Regions from separate parts of the Homo sapiens genome. Here regions 2, 3 and 4 are each linked to region 1. Evidence: promoter capture Hi-C in 16 types of primary human blood cells and fetal thymus (Javierre and others, 2016). All regions are on one chromosome and are shown on one strand. The core of a region is centred on a gene start or on the middle of the fragment in contact, and the rest is flanking DNA. Distances in the headings are between cores, read along the strand shown.

Region 1 (4,136 bases), core at 718-3,217:
TGAAGGGCCCTTTTCCCTTGACTAAACATTTTTTAGCAACAAATGACCCTTACAGCATTTTGTTAATATTGTTGAAAGGACTGTTGGGGCATCAGGTTGGGGACTGAAGGGAATCTCAGGGTCTACTTCCAGCTCTTCCTTAGGTTGGATATATTTCACATGTAAAATGGTAGCATAGGACCTAACTCATAGAATCACTGCGAGGATGAATCATGGTTTCCCTTTGAGCCCCAGTTTCTCTTGTTATAGAAAGGGCATAGTGATTTTTTTGTGACTCAGGAGTATGTGGCAAAGGCACACTTAGGATTATGCAGGAACAGCTTTCATTAAGAGAGCTACTAGGTGACATCTTCTCCATGGTGGCTGCTCAATTATTAAATGAATGATTCCTGGAGACCTTTTGTAGTTTCTATTATTTATCATCATTAGGCCATAACCTAAGGTAAGGTGAGATTGCCTTATAACATTTTTTATACATAAAAAATACTGGTTGCATGCTGCTATCTGCTGTGCAACAGAATGTCATAGGATCCAGTGTATGAGGCTCTATTCTTCCATGGAGGGGTGTTACATAAACCCATTAGTGAAATTTAGGGAAATTTCACCCAGACTAGGGAGGATGAAGAATGGAGCATCTATCTTTTGACAGAAATACAGTTACACACACACATACACACACACATACACACACACAGAGAGAGAGAGAGAGAGAGAGAGAATGAGAAACAAAAACAGAGGAGTACAAAATTGAGCCTAAGAAAAAGAACTGGAACCAATAAAAATTGTAACTAACATTTATTAAGTATCTTCTATGGGCCAGTCTCTTTATCTCCAATCTTCAACAACCAGCAAGGCAGGCAGGAGAAAACTGAAGTTCAAAAATGTTACATAACTTCCCCAGGGTCATAAAGCTATATATACATGACAGAACTGGAACTGGTAGTGTTGGTATGTGTCTGACACCAAAATCACTACACATTCTAGTATACCACTCTGTTAAAAAAGTGTATTTGGAAAATTTAGGGATCAGAGGATTTGGAGAATTTTCTTTCCCTACTTCCCCTCTGACAGTCGTGTTTGTTTTTGGTTCTGATGTTTGCACCCTAGAGGCTGACTGGGATCAAATATGGGGCATCTGTAAACAGAATGATTCCATAGCCCCCACTGTGTAATAATTTCCTTCCTTCAGAGCCTTACTAGGATTTGCCTGGGATGAGGGGTGGAAAGGTGGGAGAGAAGAGGTTGGGAGGGAGAGGATGTTAGTAAAAGATGGGTGATTCTTTGCTTACCTTTAAGTTGTTTATGAATTTCAGGACAACCCGTTGGCTATTCTCTTCTCTGGCTTGGCATATATATATATGTATGTATTTTTTTTTCATTTTTGTTTTGTGGGGGTGGTGGTTTAGGTGTTAAGGGTTTGGTTGATATCTGTAGAAAATTTCTTAATGATCTACACAGTAGATAAAAAAACAAGTTAAGGTCAAAGACAATTCCTTCGTCTGTTTTGGGAGACGAGTGTGTATGTTTGAAAAAAAGGTTTGTTCTGGGTCACTCTTCTTTCATCCAGACGCATTAAAGGAATTAGAAGGGGGTCTCCCTGCCACCCCCGAAACCGTGAGAGTCAAACGGAGATTCCCTTATATTCCTGCTCTCAGGTGCGGGTCCGAGTGACAAGAACGTTCACGTATCTTCGGGAGAGAACGAAAAGGTGCTCGGGTCTGGCGGGGGCGGGGAACGCCAGGGGTTGGTGGGAACTGAGGGGCTTCCGGTTCCCGGGAAGCGGAGTCCCGGGCCGGCCGCGGGCCGCGGGCTACGCAGGGAGCACGGGGCCCTCGCCGCCCCCAGGCCGCGCTCCTTAGCGTTCCCTGCGGCTCGTGCCCAGCGCGGCCGCCGCAGTCCCGACGCCGTAGCCGGACGTGGGGTCCAGGGGGCGCTGTGGCCCAGCGGCGCCGGCGGCAGGAGCGGCCACCCGACGCTGGAGGCTTCGCTGAGGATCCCCGCCTGCCGCACCTCGGTCGTCCCGCCGCAGCCTTGCGCCCCCGGCCCGGCTCGGCGGCGCTCCTCCGGGATCCGCGTGGCTGCCGCGGCCCGGGCGCCGATGCGGCTGGGCGGGTGCCGGGCCTTAGCAGCAGTAGCAGCCGCAGCTGCGGCTACCGCAGCTCCTACAGGAGTGGGAGGTTTCGCGGCGGCGCCTGGGGCCGCGCCGGTGCCCTCCGGAGGAGGCTTTCGGCTCAGGGACGACCCCCGTGGCCATGCTGAAGCGGAGGCGGCCGCTGCTCGAGGTGAGTGTGGCGCGGCGTGGTCCGGGGCTCGCCGGCCTCCCGCCGCCTGTGGGGGCCCTGGCGGCAGACCGCGGGCCGGGCGGACGGGGCGTCCTGCCACTGCGGTCGCCTCCCCCACCCTGCGGTCCTGGGGCCTCAGCCCTTTCTCCCCGCGTCCCCCGGGAGGCTGAAGGCCGTGGGGGGCGATTAGGCCCCGCGCCGTTGGGAAGCCCTCGCTCCGGCCTCGGTTCCGGCGCGGCCGGGTGTGTGGAGCTGGGGGCCGGCAGGAGCACGGCCGCCTTTCGGGTTTGCATGGGCCCGGGCCGAGCGCAGCCTCTTAGCCCGGGCCCTGCACGTACATCCCGGAGGGAGGCAGATGACGCCTGTTTGCAAACAAGCTTTGGCTTCCACGCGTCCCATACCGAGTCCCTCAGAATCCCGGTTGTGGCGGGGAAAGGGGGAGGAGAGGAAGGCCAGGGTGAGAATTGGGGGTGCAGAGAGTGCGGGACCAAGAGAGCCCCTGCTACTCCTGGAGTGTCATTCATGGATCTGGCTTGCTCGAGAACAACCTTTTGCGTCTTATTTGAGGTGAAATTTCATCACCTGCCGGTTGCTCATTCCTGCCTCTTTATATTATATCTTGCCTCTAAGCGTGGTCTGCCTTGGAGAAAGCCCCATCGCATCTTTGCGATGCTAAGTTTTGTAGATAAACACTCACAGTTATAAAAACGTCTTTTACAAAGGTCTGCCCCCCACACCCCGCCAGAAGAAATATTTTTATGCTTCAGTGTTCGGTACAAAAATGTTCCACTTAAAGAGATCCAGAGAATAGTTGGCAAAAGGATTTTAAGTCCTCTTTAAGTGCCAGCTACCCTAATAAATACCTGAAGGAAATGGGATACATGCTAAATTTTAGAAATAAAATGATTTGTTCTGATATTAATGTTGAAAATGCTACTGATTACAGTTTGATACCGTAAGTCAGATATTTATGTTTTGTGAGAAATGTGATTACAGGTTATTCTTGTTTTCCTGTTATGTATGTGAAAGTTATAAGACTTATAGGTACTTGCAAAACTTTTATAATCATGAAAAAATATGCTTATTGTAGAAAACTTGGGAATTATAGAAAGGTACCATGTTGGCTCTTAATAAATATTTAATAATAGGAGAAATCACCCATAATCTCACAGATTGTAAACAGTACAGGTTTATAATGGGCTCGTACTGACAGTGATTTTTAAAATTATTATTTCTGTATATTAGGTTTAAAATTATCTGACTGTTCCATTTTACATTGTCATTTGTATAAGACCTGTAAAAATATTTTACTAAATTACATTGGAACCATGTTGAATTCATCAATTAAAACAGAAGAATATGGGTAACTACCTAAAAGATCCCTGACTTAACCTTCTATGCAGCATGGGGTCTCCATCTAGGGAGAAAGTTTGGCATGGTACACGTTTTTGAAGACCTACTGTGTTAGATGCTGTAGCCTTGCATTGTTTTTGTCAGATTTTAAGTATTTCTTTTAAAAATTGGCTTCATTACCAGTTATTTGGGTAGGTTAATCTCGATTTTTAAAAGTCTAATTCAGGCAAAGTGTGATGGCTAGGCCTACTAGGGAGGCTGAATGGGGAGGACCCCTTGATCCTAGGAGTTCCAGTCCTGCTTGGGCAACGTAAGCAAGATGCCCCTCTCCGAGGCGGGTGGATCATGAGGTCAGAAGTTCAAGACCAGCCTGGTCAATATGGTGAAACCCCGTCTCTACTAAAAATACAAAAATTAGCTGGCATGGTGGTGCCCACCTGTAGCCCCAGCTACTCGGGAGGCTGAGGCACAAGAATCATTTGAACCTGGGAGGCAGACGTT
Region 2 (4,601 bases), core at 1,112-3,611, 140 kb after region 1:
GGTTTCACCGTGTTAGCCAGGATGGTCTTGATCTCCTGACCTCATGATCCACCCGCCTCGGCCTCCCAAAGTGCTGGGATTACAGGCGTGAGCCACCTCGGCCGTCCTCAATCATTTTTCCAAGTGTTTAGAAAAGAGCCAGAGGCATTGGCATGTTTTATTTTCTACAATAGGTTTTTGGCTCAATGCAGTGACAGTTCACAGTTGAATTATACAGACTCAGTGTGATCTATTTTAATCTTTGCTGTATTGTAACACAGATTTCTGTGCATCTTTTTTTAAGAGTAAGGATTGATAGGAATGTCTTTATTTTTGTGTTTTTATTCCATCTGTAGATGTGAACAGGAAGTGCTGGTGTTTCACAACCAAGGGAATGCATGCAGTGGGTCAGTCTGAGATAGTCATTCTTCTACAGTGTTTACCGGATGAAAAGTGTTTGCCAAAGGATATCTTTAATCACTTTGTGCAGCTTTATCGGGATGCTCTGGCAGGTAGGAATGCTTTATGACTTAGTCTGCTCCCTTTGTAGATGACAAAAAAATTTTGAATTCAAATACAAAATAATAGTCTTAACTTTGGACTTAAGCATGGCAGGGGACTTTGATATTAGTGGCAAGTTGAAGCTTTCCATGGTTTGAAGAAATTATAAATTTTAGTATTGTACCTGGTATAGTTTTTATTTTACAGAGGCTGGAATCAAAGCTGTAAGAGAATCTGGTGACCTAAATGTAAGAATATTTTCTTTTTAGTGGCCTGGGGTCAGGATATTGGTACCTGGTAGAAGGAAGCATATTTGTAACTTACTTCTTGTTTCTTTGGTTAACAATATTTATTTAATCATAGTGTAAATGCTAATGAATATTCAAATTTCAAAAACAATTAGCATACATGACTATGGCTTCAAAATAAATTGTAAATATTAACTGTAACAACTTAAAAGTAAAAGCATAGAGGTTAGAAGCTGGGAAAGACTAAGGATATTAACATAAAAAGAAACTAAGATTGAGAGAAAAGAAACACATTATTTGACATTATAGTTATTTATTATGACATTGTGTTATTTGACATTACAAAGTCAGCCTCCCTTTGATTTAACAAATGAGGTAGAAAAACGGTGTAATTGAACTATTCTCGTTTATTGTAACAGGAAGTCAGTACATAATATCTGTATTTGATAAATAGGGTTTATCTTTGAGGAAGAAGGCCTGGAGAGGGTGTGAGGGTGACCGGGGTATTAAAACTATTTTCATGTATTATTTGATAATATTTCATACATATATTAAAACAATAAATTATTCAGACTTTCTTAATGCAATAATTTTCATTGTGGGATTCTGTGCCAAAGACAGTATCCAGAATATAAAATGCACTTCTGTGAATGAAAGGGTTTATTGCAACATTACCTAAATTTAACACAAAAATTCAGAAGCAACCTGAATGCCTTAGCTATAGGTGGAAAGTTTAACTGTGTTATACTTATTAGATGTGAGGATCTTTTTGAGAACTTTTTTTGGCCATTAAAACAATATTTATGAAAAGAATGTAGTAACATGGAAAATGCTCTTTAAATAATTACAGAAGCAGGATATATAATTGTATTTTTAATGTGATGTAGATTATGCGTAAAAGATTGTGCCTTTATGTCTTCATTAGTCTCTACAATAATTTAGGTGTAGCATTACATAAGGGCAAGGTGATACATTGGAAACTGACCACATGATACCTGTGAAGTACCTTTTAATGTTTACCCTGTCTGTTCCAAAATGTATAGGGTTAAATCTGAAATCATCCAGGTCCTCCAGGCCACATAATACCCTGGAGCTGAATTTAGTCCTGGAAATAACTGGGAACTTTCACTTTTCTCCTCAATCTGAATGTATTCACTTTTAAACACTCTAGAAAAATGGCATTGGAGGTTCAAGTAATTGTAGATTCATGTGGGTTTTGAGAGTGTGTTAGAGACTAGGGTATGGGAGGTTCATGAATGTCTTATTTAGGAGCCCATGCTTTATTCTGTAGGCAATGAAGAACCATTGAAAGTATTTGAGATGATGAGTGACATAATCAGATTTGCATTTTAGAAAGATGACTCTGGAAGCAGTGTGAAAAATGGATCAAAGTCCGTGAGTCTGGTGGCAGTTAAGAAGCAATTTCAGGATAAGCAAATGTATATTCATACACTAGAATACTGCTCAACAGTAAAAATGAACTAACTGCTGATGTACACAACAACATGCATGAATCTCACAGACATTATGCTGAGCAAAAGCCAGGCACAAAAAAGTACATATTGGATGATTCCATTTATATGGTTTTCTAAAACAGGCAAAATTAATCTTTGGTGATAGAAATTAGGTCAGTGTTTGCCTAAAGTGAGGTGGGGGTGCAGGTGCTAGAACTGACTACAGAGAGTCCCAGAAAACTTTCTGAGATGAGAGGTCTATATCTGGATTAGGATAGTGGTTATGTGGGTGTTTGCCAAAACTCATTGAAATGTACACTTAAAATCTATCATTTTTATAATATATAGATTATACCTCAGTAAAATTTATTTTTTAAAAAGATATTGCAGGAATCCAGCAAGAAATTAAGAAATTATCAGGATTTAAATTAAATAATTGCAGTGGAAATAAAGAAGAGTATTGGAGAGATACGAAAGATGTGGTGCTTCAATTCAGTAGGATTTGGTAACTAACTGGATATAGGGGGTTAGAGGGGACAAGTCAAGGTTGGCCTCAGATTCCTCGCTTGAGCACCTAAGTGTATGTTGGTCTTCTTCTATTCACCATCTTGATGAATAACAGATTTGGCAGAGGTAAGGGAATTCTTTGTTCAGTGTGCTGAATTTGAAATAATGACATCAGATGAAACATGAAAATGGCAGATGATTATATGGGTATGGATCCCAGAAGATAGATCTGAGTTAAAATACAGATTTTGGAGACACAGCTTTCCTGTGATAGTTGAGAGTATCGTTGTGAATGGGATAGGCCTGTGTGAAGAGACTACGGCTGTAGATGGAATCCTGAGAGATAGACATCCTCTCAAGGAGAGGATGTGAATTATTGCATGAATTATTAAAATATGTTTAGCATAAATTTTTTTTTTTTTTGAGATGGAGTCTCGCTCTGTCACCCAGCCTGGAGTGCAGTGGCGCTATCTCAGCTCACTGCAAGCTCCACCTCCCAGGTTCACGCCATTCTCCTGCCCCAGCCTCCCAAGTAGCTGGGACTACAGGCGCCCGCCACCACGCCTGGCTAATTTTTTGTATTTTTAGTAGAGACGGGGTTTCACCGTGTTAGCCAGGCTGATCTTGATTTCCTGACTTCGTGATCCGCCCGCCTCGGCCTCCGAAAGTGCTGGGATTACAGGCGTGAGCCACCGCGCCCAGCAATGGTTATTTTTTTAAAAAGGATACTTATATGTCAGTTCAGTCCATTTTGAACTATTGCAAAAATTTTGAAACAACAAAAATACTTGGAACTGATTACAAGATACTAATGATAGTCTAAGGTCAGACTATAATACATCTAAGCCAACTAAAAATATTTTCTATAATGTAGGATAGGGACACGAACATATATATGTATATCTAAGGAAATAACATTTCAAAAGCATAAGTGAGACGAAAGAGTTTTTCCTTGAATAGGAATCATTTCACAACTCATCAAATATTGGGACTAGAAGGCATTTTAGATAATTTAATACAAACTCTTCATTTTTTAGATAAGGAAAATCAGACCTAGAAGTGTTAATGGCGTACCTAAATCACAGACCAAGTTGGTGGCAGAATTGGGACTGTAGCTCCCAGATCAGTATTGTTTACATTATGTCAGTTGCCTCTGTGTACCATTAATAATATATCAGTTCTTAAAAACACAGATATATTATCTATATACTATACATATTTATTAAGAACCTTATTTTTAGATAATCAGGGTAATAGCTTGATATATTTCACTATAAATTTTTTAATAAGTAAAAGCATATTTTGGGTGTTCTAAAACGGGGTCCCCAACCCACAGGCCATGGACTGGTATTGGTCCGTGGCCTGTTAGGAACCAGGCCACACAGCAGAGGTGAGGGGCAGGCAAGCAAGTAAAGCTTCATCTGTATTTACAGCTGCTCCCCATTGCTCACGTTAGCGCCTGAGCTCTGCCTCCTCTCAGATCAGCAGCGGTATTAGATTCTCATAGAAGTGCGAACCCTGTTGTGAACTGCGCGTGTGAGGGATCTAGGTTGTGTGCTCCTTATGAGAATCTAATGCCTGATAATCTGTCACTGTCTCCCATCACCCCCAGATGGGACAGTCTAGTTGCAGGAAAACAAGCTCAGGGATCCCACTGATTCTACATTATGGTGAGTTGTATAATTATTTCATGACATATTACAATGTAATAATAGAAATAAGGTGCACAATAAATTTAATGCGCTTGAATCATCCTGAAACCGTCTCCCCTTCCCCACAGTCCGTGGAAAAATTGTCTTCCACAAAACCCATCCCTGGTGCCAAAAAGGTTGGAGGCTACTGTTCTAAAATGATAGCAGGCTGGGCACGGTGGCTCATGCCTGTAATCCCAGCACTTTGGCAGGCCAAGCCG
Region 3 (4,655 bases), core at 1,150-3,649, 160 kb after region 1:
TCATATTTGGAAGATACTTTTGGTGGTTGGAGAAGTCTAGGTTGAGTTTTGTTGTTTAGGTTTTTTGGTTTTTTTTTTTTTTGAGACAGAGTCTCACTCTTTCACCCAGGTTGTAGTGCAGTGGCACAATCTCGGCTCACTGCAACTTCCACCTCCCGGGCTCAAGCAATGCTCCCACCTCAGCCTCCCGAGTAGCTGGGATTACAGGCATGCACCACCATGCCCAGCTAATTTTTGTATTTTTAGTAGAGACAGGGTTTCACTATGTTGCTCAGGCTGGTCTTGAACTCCTGACCTCAAGGGATCCTCCTGCCCTGGCCTACCAAAGTGCTGGGATTACAGGTGTGAGCCACCATGCTCAGCCCGAGTTTTCTTCTTTGAGTGTTTTTGAGATGTTGCTCCACTGTCTTCTGCTTTGCATTGTTTTCCCTCTCATCTTTGTTCCTCTCTACATAACAATTTTTTCTTTTCTTAACGTTGTTTTTCTTTTTCCATCTTTTTTTTTTTTTTTTTTTTTTTTTTTGGAAATAGGGTCTCACTCTGTTGCCCAGGCTGGAGTGCAGTGGCACAATCACGGCTCACTGCACCCTTGACCCACAGGGCTCAGGTGATCCCCCCGACCTTGGCCTACCAAGTAGCTGGGACTACAGGTACGTGCCGCTATGCCCAGCTAATTTTGTTTATTTTTTATACAGACAAGGCCTCGCAGTGTTTCTCAGACTGGTCTCCAACTCCTGGGCTCAAGCTATCCTTCCACCTCAGCCTCCCAAAGTATTGGGATTACATGCATGAGCCACTGTGCCTGACCTTCTCTGGCTAGTTTCAAAAGCTTTTTAAAATTACAAGTTTGAAGCAAATTGATTATAATGTGCCATAGTGTAGTTTTCATGTTTCCCGTACTTGGGGTTCATTGAGCTTTTTGAATCTATGGGTTTATAGTTTTCATCTGATATTTTTTCTGTTCATCCCCTTCTCTCCCTGAAGGAGATTACTCCAATTACATATATATCAGGCTGCTTGAAATTGTTTCACGTCTTACTAATGTTCTTTTTATTTCTTTTTCAGTCTTTTTTGTCTCTTGTTTTCATTTAGGATGAATTTTATTGCTGTGCTCTCAATTTCACTAATCTTTTATTTTGGTTTAAGCTGCTGTTAATTCTATCAATCTTTTAAACAATCTCAATCAAATACTTTGATTTTCATCTCTTGAAGTTATACTTGGGTCTTTTAAGATCTTTTATGTCTCTGCTTAACATTTTGTACATGTAGAATACAATATAATAACTATTGTAATGCCTTTAGTAATTCTAACTTCTTGTATAAGTTCTGGCTCCGTTTCCATGGATTGATTTTTTTTCCTTTATTTTGAGTTGTATTTTCCTGCTTCTTTGAATGTTTGGTATTTTTTTATTGGTTGCCAGACATTCTGATTTTACCAGTTGGGTGCTGGTTATCAATATTCTTGAGCTTTTTTTGCAAGTAATGAAGTCAAGTTACTTAGAAAAACCCTCCATCTCACATCATATTCTACATTTCAGTAAATGGCAGTTCCAGTCTTCTAGTAGCCCTGGCTATAAAATTTAGAATCATCTTTAACTTTTATCATTTGTTCACATTCCACATCCACAGTGGCAAATATTATCAGATTTTCCTTTAAAATATGTCTGGAAACAGGCTGGGCGCAGTGGCTCACACTTGTAATCCCAGCATTTTGGGAGGCCAAGGTGGGCGGATCAGCTGAGGTCAGGAGTTTGAGACCAGCCTGGCCAACATGGCAAAACCCCATCTCTACTAAAAATACAAAAATTATCTGGGCCTGGTGGTGCATTCCTGTAATCCCAGCTACTTGGGAGGCTGAGGCAGTAGAATTGCTTGAACCTGGGAGGCAGAGGATTCAGTGAGCCAAGATTGCGCCACTGCACTCCAGCCTGGTTAACAGAGCGAGACTCTGTCTCAGGAAAAAAAAAAAAATCTGTATCTATATATCTAGAAACTGACAACTTCTCATCACTTTTTAAACTGTTAACATCCTGGCCAGGTGCAGTGGCTCACGACTGTAATTGTAGCACTTTGAGAGACCGAGGCAGGTGGATCACCTGAGGTTGGGAGTTCAAGACCAGTCTGGCCAACATGGTGAAACCTTGTCTCTACTAAAAATACAAAAATTAGCCGAGCATGGTGACGCACATATGTAATCCCAGCTACTTGGGAAGCTGAGGCATGAGACTCGCTTGAACCCTGGAGGCGGAGGTTGTACTGAGCCAAGATGGCACCACTGCACTCCAGCTCGGGCAACAGAGTGAGACTCCATCTCAGAATAAATAAATAAACTGTTAACATCCTGGTCTAAGCTCTCACTATCTCCTACCTTGATTGTTTTTATGGTATTTATCTGATCTTTTCTTCCATTCTTCCTCCCTTACCACCTATTCATTACCAAGGAGTCAGATCTGTTAAAACAGGTCAAAAGCCTCCTAAAGGCAAAAGTCCTCACGGTGACCTATAAGAACCTATGAAATCTAGCCATTTGCTATTACTTTGACCTTGAGTCCACCACTCTTGTTCATTTTGTTTCACCCATACTGGATAGATGATGTGTTAGTGTGTGTGTGTGTTTCCTTACAGATATTCATTGAGTGCCTAAGATGTTCCAGGCGTTAAGGATATAGCAAGAACAACACAACTGAGAGTTTGTACTCTCTTGGAGCTTCAGAGGGAGGAGACAGATAGTTAACAAATAAATACAGAAAATGTTAAGTGGTGGTAAAGCAGGGTAGACATTCAAAAATATTTTTTAATGTTGTGTATAAGAGGTATATGATAATGTTTGGTTTACTTATAAGAGTTTAAAGACTAAAGAGCTAAAATACATATAGTGGGGCTTTCATTATACATTTCCTTATTATTTAAATAAATAGGATCTTTCAATATTGACATTTTTTCCATTCGTGTTAATTTTATTACTATAAATTAAACCCTACCATTGATGAATTAATTTATTCTGCTTCAATCTGCTTTGGCCCAGGACTTCAGAAATTACCAGTATACCTTGCCAGTAGTTCAAGGTTTGGTGGTTGATATGGAAGTTCGGAAAACTAGCATCAAAATTCCCAGCAACAGATACAATGAGGTAAGATTTACCATGAAGGCGTATTTTTCATAGTTGAAAACATGAGTGAAGGTGAAAAATGCATGATTATATATAAATTTTACTTATAATTAATTAACAATGAAATCAGTTAATAATATTGTATGGCTTAGTTCAATTATGGGGAATTTCATTACAGGAAGACAAGATGTCAAATTTCTGACCTAGTGGTTCATTGGATGTGTCATTTTACCTTTTGATGTTATGATAATTAGTATTAGATTTGCATTTTGATTAGGTCATGAAATTAGCCTTGTATCTGTAATATTAGTGGTGAGATTTTTAAAATGTCCCCACTCCTACTATAAATATTTATTTATTTATTTATTTATTTTTTGAGATGGAGTCTCACTGTGTCGCCCAGGCTGGAGTGCAATGGTGTGATCTCAGCTCACTGCAACCTCTGCCTCCTGGGTTCAAGTGATTCTTCTGCCTCAGCCTCCCAAGTAGCTGGGATTACAGGCACCCGCCACCATGCCTGGCTAATTTTTGTATTTTTAGTAGAGACGAGGTTTCACCATGTTAGCCAGACTGGTCTCAAACTCTTAATCTCAGGTGATCCACCCACCTCGGCCTCCCAAAGTGCTGGGATTACAGGCACGAGCCACTGTGCCCAGCCGGGTTTCTTTGTATAAAATAATTTTTCCTTCCTTTTTCCTTTTTTTTTCCTTTTTCATTTCATTTTTTCTTCATTTAGCCACTAAATCATTTATGCGTTGAATAAACATTATGTACTTGGTATGCACGTAGAATCACACAGATGTTTTATTGGATTTGTGAGCTCAGTTCTCAGCATTATTATGAGAATGACCTCTGTGAAGAAAGCTTTTAGCCATGACTTTCCACGTGATTTTTTTTTTTTTAAGGATATTAGAAAATAGTAGCTAGAATGTGTGCTTACTTTTTTCTGGGATACAACTAGCAGTCTTCAGCATTTAGATAATCCTGCCTTGGAGTATCAAGGAGTAATCGATGAGACTAGGTAGAGTCAAATCTTTAAAGTGAACTATTTGTAGTTCACAGATCTTGCTCTGTTGCCCAGGCTGGAGTGCAGTAATGCAATCTTTCATGGCCTAAAGAATTTTAAAAGAGATTGTGCTTTGAAAACCTATTTTATTTCTCAAATTTGAAATATTATTGTCTATTTCACAAACATGTATTAAATATATTCTGTGATTTGAAATATAAAGATGAGATAAGAACATTAGGCCTGCTGGCCAAGCGCGATGGCTCACACTTGTAATCCCAGCACTTTGGGAGGCCAAGGCAGGTGGATCACCTGACGTCAGGAGTTTGAGACCAGCCTGGCCAACGTGGTGAAACCCCGTCTCTACTAAAAATACAAACATTGGCTGGGTGCCTGTAATGCCAGCTACTCGGGAGGCTGAGGCAGGAGAATTGCTTGAACATGGGAGGCAGAGGTTGCAGTGAGCTGAGATCTCACCATTGGACTCCAGCCTGGGCGACAAGAGCAAAACTCTGTCTCAAAAAAACAAACAAACAAAAA
Region 4 (4,619 bases), core at 796-3,295, 180 kb after region 1:
CCGCCCATCTTGGCCTCCCAAAGTGCTGGGACTACAGGTGTGAGCCACCACGCCCGGCCCTCTGTGACCTCATTTTTTATAACTATTCCTTTTCTGTCACTCAGCTCTGGCCACACTGTCCTCAGTGTTCCTTGAAATTCCAGGGCATGCTACCTTACTGCCCTCCAGGGCCTTGCACGTATCCCCATGCAGTGGGATAAAAGCCTTTGGCTTTTCCCTCACTTTTTTCAGTAAGACATCCTCTGACTCTCCTATTTAAAATTGTACCCACCAATACTCCCAGTCCTCCTTCCATGTTTTATTTTTCTCTGTAGCACTTGTCATTGTATAATAGTTTTATGTATTTTACTTATTTGTTTATTGTTTTTGTCTCCTCCTCCTACACACAAGAATATAAGCTCTGTGAGGGCAGGAATTTGTTTGCTTGTCTACTACTGAATAAAGCAAGCACTAAAACAGTGTCTGGCACGTATTAGATACTCAATGCCCATTGGCTAAATGAATAAGTATTTTCTAAATGAATGAGTGAAGGCAGCCTGGGCACATAGCGTGAGACCTCAGCTCTACAAAATAAAAGTAGGCCAGAGGGCCAGGCACTTTGCCTCATGCCTGTAATCCCAGCACATTGGGAGGCCAAGGAGGGAGGGTCACTTCAGGTCAGGTGTTTGAGAGCAGCCTGGCTATCATGGTGAAACCCATCTCTACCAAAAAATAACAAAAATTAGGCGGGCATGGCAGCACATGCCTATAATCCCAGCTATTCGGGAGGCTGAGGCAGGAGAATCACTCCTGAGGTCCGGAGTTCACAACCACCCTGACTAACGTGGTGAAACCCCGTCTCTACTAAATACAAAAAAAAAAAAAAAAAGCCAGGCGTGATGGCGCATGCCTGTAATTTGAGCTACTTGAGAGGCTGAGACAGGAGAATTGCTTGTACCTGGTTGGCGGAGATTGCAGTGAACTGAGATTGTGCCATTGCACTCCAGCCTGGGCAACAAGAGCAAGACTCAGTCTCAAAAAAAAAAAATAACCACAAAAAAACAAATGAAAATAAAGATAGCTGGGCATAGTGGTACATAGCTATAGTCTGTGTACCTGGGAGGCTGAGGTGGGAGGCTCACTTGAGCCCAAGAGTTGGAGACTGCAGTAAGCTATGATTATGCCACTGCACTCCAGCCGGGGCAACAGAACAAGACCCTGTCTCAAAAACACACACACACACACACACAAAAACAAAAACAAAAACAAAACAAAACAGATTGAATGAAGACTCATAGTTGTCAATATGTAGATTCATAGGACTTGAAGATGGGGTCTAGCCTCTGGACACTAGTGAATTTCAGCTAACTGGAAGGGTACGTATTTACATTTTTCTTAAAATTACTCCAAGAAAGTATATTCTTCCACCTTTTCCATCGTTCTTCAGCTCAGTGTTTCTTTCTCACTTCTAGTTCTGTTCCTCACTTATGCTGTTTCCTCTGTCCAAAATATTCTTTTTATATACCTGATAGCCTTTAGCAAACCTCCCTAGAATTCTCCATCCCCTAGACAGTGTCACTGTTTTTCTCCTCCATTTTCCTGTTGTTCTTTATTTCTGTAACATGCACAGGATGATGGGTGTGAATCCTGTCCTCTGAATTGTGAGCCTCTTGAGGGCAGAGAGTAAGTCTTTCATGCTTCCCTGTATCCTTGTAGTTGTTCACTTTTCATAGATTTTTCACACCTTTGTACTGGATCTTCCTGTCTAAAGCCTTTGTTAATCACTTGATAATGTTTGTAGAACTGAATCACTAAAACTTATTTTATTTGGCCGGGTACAGTGGCTCACGCCTGTCGTTCCAGCACTTTGGGAGGCTGAGGAGGGAGGATCACTTTAGCCCCAAGATTTGAAACCAGCCTTGGCAACATAGTAAGAAAGACCCCATCCATACAAAATTAAAAATAAAAGAATTAGGCTGGGCGTGGTGGCTCACGCCTGTAATCCCAACACTTTGGGAGGCTGAGGCGGGCGGATCATGAGGTCAGGAGATCAAGACCATCCTGGCTAACATGGTGAAACCCTATCTCTACTAAAAATACAAAAAATTAGCTGGATGTGGTGGTGGGCCCCTGTAGTCCCAGCTACTCGGGAGGCTGAGGCAGGAGAATGGTGTGAACCCGGGAGGCAGAGCTTGCAGTGAGGCTGAGGCAGGAGAATGGTGTGAACGTGGGAGGCAGAGCTTGCAGTGAGCCGAGACTGCACCACTGCACTCTAGCCTGGGCGACAGAGCGAGACTCCATCTCTAAAAAATTAAATAAATAAATAAATACATAAAAAATAAAAGAATTAGCCAGGTGTGGTGGCACATACCTGTAGTCCCAACTTCTTGGGAGGTTGAGGTGGGAGGGTCACCTGAGCCCCAGAGGTCAAGGCTGCAGTGAGCAGTGATCATGCCACTGCACCCCAGCCTGAACGAGAAGGCGAGACTGTCTCAAGAAATAAAAACAAAAACAGAAACTTATTTTATTAGATACCCAATCTATGTGACACTAATTACAAGTGAATCAAGATTTAAAAGAAAATCGTGCTAACCACATTAACTCTCAGTATAGTTTTATGACTATTACAAGCCATCCAAATCTATTCCTACTTATTCGGTTTACTAACTAGTATATTCAGCAAGTATTTATGGAGTGCCTGCCATGACAAAGGCCCTATGCTAAGCCTAACACATATACAAATTGTATCCACTCCTCAACACTCTGCTTAAACTCCTCTATAAATCCTTTCCAGTTCAAATCGAAAGGCTAGTCATTTTTTAAACATGAGATCTCAGAGAGGAAATTGGAAGTACATGATGTGTTAACTGAAAGATGGATTAGGTGTTATAACTCTTCACACACTTCTGCAGCATAATCATTCATAGAACTGTGTTCTTTTAATTGGCTCCTGTGATTTTTCCGGGACTCCAAGGGTGGGAAACACCGGGAGGTAAAGCTCGTGCTGTTTCACTTGATGTGCTAAAATGGTTCTTATGAGATAATGCTCCTGTAGCATTTAGCTCAGCTTGCTCAGTGCCTGGTTCATGGTTGGTGCTCTGGAAATGTTACGTACTTTGCACATTCTGTTGTTACAGCAGTTGTTTCTCTGCCTTTTACTGGTATGTCATTCTCAATAATTTGTAAACTTTTAGGAAAGGTCTTTAATTTCATTATCTTATAAGAGGTATAGGAGCTACCTGGTTGAATTATTTGCTGCTGATTTTAAGGTTGCTGTAAGGTTCAGTAGGCAGGGTAGGGAAGATGAGCATACAAATTTTATTTAACAAATTGTTTGTTAAAAGAGTACTTATTATATGTTTGATGCTGTCCTAAGCACTTTGTAAATATTAATTTATCTAACTCTCATAACTCTATGAAATAGTTACTTTTATTATCACATTTTATAGAAGAGGGTCCTGGGACACAGAGAGGTTAAGTAAGTTTACCAAAGACACACAGATAGTTACGAGCAAGGCCAGTATTCAGATACTGTTGGTCGAAGGCCAGGCATGGTGGATCATGCCTGTAATCCCAGCACTTTGGGAGGTCAAGGTGGGTGGATCACCTAAGGTCAGGAGTTCAAGACCAGCTTGACCAACATGGTGAAACCCTGTCTCTACTCAATACCAAAAAAAAAAAAAAAAAAAAATAGCTGGACATGGTGGCACATGCCTGTGCCTGTAATCCCAGCTACTTGAGAGGCTGAGGCAGGAGAATCACTTGAACCCAGGACGTGGAGGCTGCAATGAGCCAAGACTGCACCATTGCACTCCAGCCTGGGCAACAAGAGTGAAACTCCATCTCAAAAACAAACAAGGCCGGGCACAGTGGCTCATGCCTGTAACCCAGCACTTTGGGAGGCTGAGGTGGGTGGATCACCAGGTCAGGAGATAGAGACCATCCTGGCTAACATGGTGAAACCCCATCTCTACTAAAAATACAAAAATTAGCTGGGCATGGTGGCATGCACCTGTAGTCCCAGCTACTCGGGAGGCTGAGGTAGGAGAATCGCTTGAACCCAGGAGGCGAAGTTTGCAGTGAGCCGAGATTGCACCACTACACTCCAGCCTGGTGACAGAGTGAGACTCTGTCTCAAAAATAAACAAACAAAAATACTGTTGGTCTTGCAATTAAGCATTATTCAAGGTTGAATGTGAATGATGGCATATAAAAAGTACAGAGAATGTGCTATGGCATTTCAAAGAAGGTAATGGTCACATTAATGTCTCACTGGGGGTTAAAGAAGTCTTCATGCTGGCCAGGCGCGGTGGCTCACACCTGTAATCCTAGCACTTTGGGAGGCTGAGTCGGGCAGATCACAAGGTCAGGAGTTCGAAACCAGCTTGGCCAATATGGTGAAACCCCATCTGTATTAAAAATACAAAAATTAGTGGGGCGTGGTGGCGTGTGCCTGAAGTCCCAGCTACTCGGGAGGCTGAGGCAGAAGAATTGCTTGAATCCGGGAGGCAAGAGGTTGCAGTGAGCCGAGATGGTGCCACTGCACTCCAGCCTGAGCGACAGAGGGAGACTTGTCTCAGAAAAAAAAAAAGTCTTCATGCTGAAATTGGCATTTTCAGGGGACTACTTTTTCAGGTGCT

What was found. Contacts are between HindIII fragments. The CHiCAGO score rates a contact against its expected background, and 5 or more counts as called.
Region 2: a fragment that was not itself captured here is called in contact with the fragment with the promoter of ZFYVE9 in region 1 in 3 of 17 cell types (M1 macrophages, M0 macrophages and endothelial precursors); the score reaches 6.1 in M1 macrophages.
Region 3: a fragment that was not itself captured here is called in contact with the fragment with the promoter of ZFYVE9 in region 1 in 4 of 17 cell types (M1 macrophages, M2 macrophages, M0 macrophages and 1 more); the score reaches 10.2 in M1 macrophages.
Region 4: a contact is called between a fragment that was not itself captured here and the fragment with the promoter of ZFYVE9 in region 1, in 1 of 17 cell types (endothelial precursors). The highest score is 5.1, in endothelial precursors.

Annotation. Positions count from the first base shown.
Region 1 is chr1:52,140,122-52,144,257 of GRCh38, forward strand. It overlaps ZFYVE9 (zinc finger FYVE-type containing 9), which reads left to right and starts at 1,968. Exons shown (of 19, transcript NM_004799.4): 1 at 1,968-2,282. LOC107984956 (collagen alpha-2(I) chain-like) reads left to right here. Exons shown (of 5, transcript XM_047439476.1): 2 at 1,072-1,168; 3 at 1,314-1,360; 4 at 1,656-2,282. RefSeq lists a silencer at 1,768-2,627. The HindIII fragment of the contact is 13,456 bases long and covers 1-2,657 here.
Region 2 is chr1:52,281,326-52,285,926 of GRCh38, forward strand. It overlaps ZFYVE9 (zinc finger FYVE-type containing 9), which reads left to right. Exons shown (of 19, transcript NM_004799.4): 10 at 336-491. Among named protein-coding and RNA genes, the nearest start is that of CC2D1B, 83 kb to the right of the region's middle. The HindIII fragment of the contact is 3,481 bases long and covers 622-4,102 here.
Region 3 is chr1:52,300,796-52,305,450 of GRCh38, forward strand. ZFYVE9 (zinc finger FYVE-type containing 9) reads left to right here. Exons shown (of 19, transcript NM_004799.4): 13 at 3,026-3,130. Among named protein-coding and RNA genes, the nearest start is that of CC2D1B, 63 kb to the right of the region's middle. The HindIII fragment of the contact is 3,144 bases long and covers 828-3,971 here.
Region 4 is chr1:52,323,045-52,327,663 of GRCh38, forward strand. All of the region lies in intron 13 of ZFYVE9 (zinc finger FYVE-type containing 9), which reads left to right. Among named protein-coding and RNA genes, the nearest start is that of CC2D1B, 41 kb to the right of the region's middle. The HindIII fragment of the contact is 6,065 bases long and covers 1-4,619 here.